Regions from separate parts of the Homo sapiens genome. Here region 2 is linked to region 1. The links are contacts of gene promoters, found by promoter capture Hi-C in blood cells and fetal thymus (Javierre and others, 2016). All regions are on one chromosome and are shown on one strand. The core of a region is centred on a gene start or on the middle of the fragment in contact, and the rest is flanking DNA. Distances in the headings are between cores, read along the strand shown. Region 1 holds the start of PIK3C3 (phosphatidylinositol 3-kinase catalytic subunit type 3). Region 2 overlaps KIAA1328.

Region 1 (2,882 bases), core at 104-2,603:
CAAAAAATTAGCCGCGCGTGACGGCGGGCACCTGAAGTCCCAGCTACTTGGGGGGCTGAGGCAGGAGAATGGCATGAACCTGGGAGGTGAAGCTTGCAGTGAGCCGAGATCGCGCCACTGCACTCCAGCCTGGGCAACAGAGAGACGGGCACTCCAGCCTGGGCAACAGAGCGACTCTGTCTCAAAAAAAAAAAAAAAAAAAAAAAAAGAAATGACATAGCAGTTTGGGAGGCCAGGGCAGGCAGATCACTGGAGGTTAGGAGTTTGAGACCCGACTGGCCAACATGGTGAAACCCCATCTCTATTAAAAATACAAAAATTAGCCTGACTGGGTGGCGGGTGCCTGTAATCCCAGCTACTTGGGAGGCTGATGCAGGAGAATCGCTTGAACCCAGGAGATGGAGGTTGCAGTGAGCCGAGATGGTGCCAGCCTGGGCGACAATAGCAAAACTCCATCTCAAAAAAAAAAAAAAAAAAGAAATAAAGGCATAGAAAATGGAGACTTTCATTCAATATCATCATTAATAACCAGTAAGTAGGAAGTATTAAACTCAGCAATGCATTAGACAGCTAGCGGGGCAAGACACGGAAGTAAATGGCACACTGGTCTTACCTTCCAAGAGTTTTCAATCTAATTGGAAGGGAGTATTACAATTTTAGATTATAATAATTATAAAAACAAACATTATAGGAGCTCAGAGGGTTTAGAGATCTGTGTTCTGTAGTTATTACAGGAGGCCTCTAGATTCTAACTTGGGTTAGGGCTTGAAACTACATTGAATTTGAATATTCCCAGTTTAAACATGCACGCAAGTATTATGTCCAAAGTAGCATGAATACTGACAACACCAAACATGAAACCCAGATTTATTTATTCTCTATTTAGTCCTTTCCCTACTCTTTAGAGCAGAAAGAGAAAATCCTTGCTTGAGATAGCAAATTAGTGCTACACTTTTTGGGAAGGCCACTGGAATTTAAACCTGGCAAAATTCCAATTTTTGTGCTTGTAACCTGTTTAGCCGGCAGCCAGTGAAAGCTGTTATAATTCTTTTTGAATTGAATTTTCTTTCGTATTGTTTTAGGTACAGCTCAAGCTCAAATGATAGCGTCTCTTTTTCTTTAAAAAAAAAAAAAAGTGCTGTCAAGACAGGAAAACTGGAATGTAACCAGATTAGCCGTTTCCCGTATACATTTGCCCTTAAGCAAGATGGTGGGCGCCTTGTGCACATGCGCGGAAGGGTTGTTTCGGCGGGGAGTTCCGCCGCGTCGGAACTCGCTCCGGGCGTGGATTGGCGGCTTGCTGGCGGGGGCGGAACCGGAAGTTCCGTGTTGTGGGGCTCAGCTGGTTCATTTATGTTGTTTTTCCTGTACCTAAGTTCCCGCTGTAGGTGGTACCTTTGCAGACGGTGCGATGGGGGAAGCAGAGAAGTTTCACTACATCTATAGTTGTGACCTGGATATCAACGTCCAGCTTAAGATGTAAGAGAACACTCGGGACAGGGAGTGGGATTGCTGGGGCGTAGGGACGTGGGGGCAGGGGCCTGTTGGGAGTGAGAGGCAGAAAGTACGTGACTCGTCTCAAGGCCCAGATTGGGGGCGGCTGTGAGGGCTGTAGCCAGGGAGGCGCGAGAGAGTGGATCGTGGAGAGGGGCTCTTTTGGAAAAGGATTTAATACGTGGTCTCCGTGAGAAGCACAGCAGTAGGAATAGCCCTTAAGTTCCGCTGTATTTTACAGTCTTTAAAGTTTTTGCTGTTCAGCCTTTTGAGAGTTTATTACTATTTCATTGTAAATTAAGAAATCAAGTCTCGTCGTAAGTAAGAGGACGATCTTTATTTTGGAACGGGGCTTGTAGGGTGGAATGAAGGCTTCAGAAATTATGGAGAGGTAGACACAGGCAGATGCGATAGTTGAGAATAAGATGAGCACATGGTGTATTAGCACGGGAGGTGATAGAGGCCTAGAGTGAATCTTTGGGTAGTATGGCAGTGTTTAGTCAGGGAAGTTGGGAGTAAGTCGAAGATGAGGGTTCCAGTTTCAAAGGTACCAAGAAGATAGGAGAAAAGAGTCTTTGCAGGAAAACGTTGGGGCACCACGGCTGAAGTAAAGGTCAAGGGCGTGATATCTTGAGATGAGGATAATAGAACTGGTATAATGACGAGGGATGCACAAGACAGAGTTGGAAATTATGTCCCTTTTAAGGTGGTCATGTAGGAGTGTTGTCAAAGCTATCACAAATTATTGACCATAGCATCATCCATAATTAATAAACATTTCTTGTGTATGTTCAATTAATATTCAACAAATATGTGTCGGTCAAAGGCCTGCAGTAAGTGATAGATAAATTTTCTCAGTTGTCTGATGTACCTTTGAATGATCATTTCATTTTATTTTCAGAAGTCCCTTATTCGCTGACAAATACTTTACTTTTTAGTTTGTGGTGGTGGTGGTAAAAGTAATATGTCAACAACCACCTTGTACCTTTGTATGATACTTTATACACTCATTTAAGGTATTTTCCATAGCATACACCACTAGTAGTTTATACAGGATCAATATTGATAAAGGGCTTTCCTTCAGCTTGATGCTCAGTATTTCTTGGATATATGAATGCATTTTTTGAAATGTTTGAACATTAAAAATAAAGAAAAAGCCAAAAAAACCGGTCCCTTTTTTTTTTTTTTTTTTTTTTGGAGACAGGGTCTCACTCTGTCTCCTTTCCCTTTGGGATGACGTTCTGCTTCTTTTGCTTCAACTCTCATGCATTGTTCAGGATCATTTCAGACATCTATCTGGGGTACTAAGTCCCTTCCCCATGCCAGCCTAAGTACTCTTGAGACTCTGATTTATCTTACTGTAATGGGAAGAATATTGGCTTTGGCCT
Region 2 (2,882 bases), core at 102-2,601, 5.1 Mb before region 1:
AACTCCTGACCTCATTATCTGCCCGCCTCGGCCTCCCAAAGTGCTGGGATTACAGGTGTGAGCCACCATGCCCATCCTACCTTGGAGTAATTTTTAAAGTATCTCTTTTGTTTGAGGTTTGTTGAGCTTTTTGGGACTGTGGGTTTATAGTTTTCATCAAATTGGGAAATGTTTCAGCCATTGTTTCTCCAGATATTTTTGTTTCCCTCTCTTTCTAGTGACCTTAGTTGCACAAATACTAGGCCTCTTGAAGTTACCCTCTCAGCTCTCTGATCCTCTGTTCATATTTTTTTCATTAAAAAATTTTTTTGTTTATCCTTGGATAGTTTGTATTGCTGTTGCTATGTCTTCAAATTCATTAACCTTCTGCAATGTCTAATCTGCCACTAATCTCATCCAGTGTGTTTTTCATATGAAACAATGTAGTTTTATCTTTAGAAGTTCAGTTTCAGTCTCTTATTTTTGTTTACATCTTCCATGTCGCTACTTGACATGCTTTCTTCTAGGTTCTTGAACATATGGAACATAGTTATAATAACTGTTTCAATATTCTTGACTATGAATTCTATCATCCAAGTCATTTGTGGATAGGTTTCAATTGAGCAATTTTTCTCCTAATTATAGGCTGTATTTTTCTGCTTCTTTGCCTGCTTGGTTGTCTTTTATTGGATGTCACAAGACAGTATGCATTTTGCCTTTTTGGGTTCTGAGACAGTGATAAATTATTTGGAAGCAATTTGATTCTTTCCAAGCTTCATTTTGAGCTTTTAAAGGTGGTGCCAGAGCAGCTTTTAGTATAGGGGTAATTTTGCCCATTGTAGGCCATACTCTTTTGAATACTCTTCCTGATGCCCCTTAAATTACAAGGTTTTCCCCTCTGGCTGGTGGGAACAGACTGTTCTCCTATGCTGTATTAGCTACAGAAATTGTTTCCACTGTTCATTTTGGGCTCTTTCCCCGGGATGAGTAGTTTTCTCACATACATATGCTGGTCAGTGCTCAGTAGTTGACGCGAAGGGATTCTGCAGATCCCTGGAGCTCTCCTATGCAGCTCTATCCTTGGCATTACTTTGCCCTGCAAGGTTTCTAGTGTTTCTGCAAACACTAGAAACCTTGGCTTTCCTGGACTCCCAGCTGTATCTTTTCAACTCAGGGAGATTGCTGGGCTCTGTCTGGATTTACCTACCTTAGCCCTGAAAACTCTCCACAGCAGTTAGCTGGGACAGTTGTAGGGCTCGCCTTGTTTGTTTCTGCAATTCCAGTGATCATTCTGTGTTGCCTGCTATCCAATGAAAACTATTGTTTCCTGTTTTTTTGTCAGGTTTTTGTTTTGTTTTGTTTTCTGAAACTAGGGTAAATCTGGTCCCTGTTACTCCATCTGGGCTAGAAGAGGATGTCCTACATTGTCGGGGGTATATGTGTCTATGTGTGCTTTTTCTTAAAACTAGAAATGGTGGTTTGCTTTTTCTTTTCCTTTTTTCCATTGAAGAGCATGTCTTGTGATTTTTTTTTTTTTTTTTGACAGAGTCTGGCTCTGTAGCCCAGGTACAGTGGCATGGTCTCGGCTCACTGCAACCTCTGCCTCCTGGGTTCTGGTTCAAGAAATTCTCATGCCTCAGCCTCTCAACTAGCTGGGATTACAGGAACGCACTACCATGCCCAGATGATTTTTGTATAAACAGAGATGGGGTTTCACTATGTTGACCAGGCTGGTCTTGAACTCCTGACCTCGTGATCCACCCACCTCGGCCTCCGAAAGTGCTGGGATTATAGGCATGAGCCACTGTGCCCAGCCATCTTGTGATTTTTTTCTCTGTGTAGTCTTTGTTGGTATTGATGTTGAGTATCCTTAATTCATTAAGGATTTCACAGTGGTAATTAGGTCAGTTCAAGTCTTCTGGGAAGCAGACCGCGAGATGGAATTAGAAATGGAAGAGATTTAATGAAGGAAAAGCTTATAAAGCATAAAGAGTAGAATGAGCAGGAATCTTCAGATTTCACTACAGTCTGGCACCTGTGACAGGAGAGGAAAAGAAGGAAGATTGACTAGGAAGAACCTCAGACTTCAGATTGCCATGCAATCTGAGATAAGTGTCCTTTTTGCTAGTGAGGAACCCCAGAGCAAATACTGCCTTTTGAGGATGCCATTTGGATCAGAAATAGCTCAGTTCTAGTGTCTCTACTGTTCCCAGTCATTGGTGTTGGTATGAACAGTGCAGTGGATCCCAAAGGTTTGGCAACTGGAGGCTGTTAGCTGATTATACTCTGCAGCAAGTTCCCTCTCTCTTTTGTGGCCATATTGCTTTATTTTTTACAGTTAAGCCTACTATTCATCAGGAAGTAATATGCACATGTAGTGTAAAGTAAGATTCACTGCAATTCAGAGAGAAAAGAATCCTCTTCCCAATAGATGGTGTTGGGCCCATAGACTGCCAGTATTGGGTCAATAGACTGTCAGTATTGGCCCAACACCATCTACTGGGAAGAGGATTCTTTTCTTCTTTGAATTGCAATGATACCATTGTTGTAAGTCAAGTGACTGTAGATATGTGGCCTTTCCTCATCATGTTTTCTTCTTTGGTAATTCGTATCCTGAACTTTATAATTCTTTTGTTTTTCCATATCGGGGTTCGCCGACTTTTTCTATAAATTGGACAGGTAGTAAATACTTTAACTTTTGCAGGCTGTAACATCTGTCTCAACAACTCAACTCTGCCACAGTAGCATTAAAAGAGCCATAAGCAATATGCAAATGAATGAGCACGTTTTAATAAACCTTTGTTTACAAAAACAGCCAGTGGGCCAGATTCGGCTTGCAGCCATGGTTTACCAAGCCCTGTCCTACAGTGTAAATACATTTTTTTTGAAACAGTATTTCATAT

Evidence for each region. Contacts are between HindIII fragments. The CHiCAGO score rates a contact against its expected background, and 5 or more counts as called.
Region 2: a fragment that was not itself captured here is called in contact with the fragment with the promoter of PIK3C3 in region 1 in 1 of 17 cell types (non-activated CD4 T cells); the score reaches 8.0 in non-activated CD4 T cells.

Annotation. Positions count from the first base shown.
Region 1 is chr18:41,953,881-41,956,762 of GRCh38, forward strand. PIK3C3 (phosphatidylinositol 3-kinase catalytic subunit type 3) reads left to right here and starts at 1,354. Exons shown (of 25, transcript NM_002647.4): 1 at 1,354-1,479. The coding sequence starts at 1,412. RefSeq lists an enhancer at 1,132-1,311. The HindIII fragment of the contact is 3,603 bases long and covers 91-2,882 here.
Region 2 is chr18:36,838,956-36,841,837 of GRCh38, forward strand. All of the region lies in intron 3 of KIAA1328, which reads left to right. Among named protein-coding and RNA genes, the nearest start is that of KIAA1328, 11 kb to the left of the region's middle. The HindIII fragment of the contact is 1,202 bases long and covers 751-1,952 here.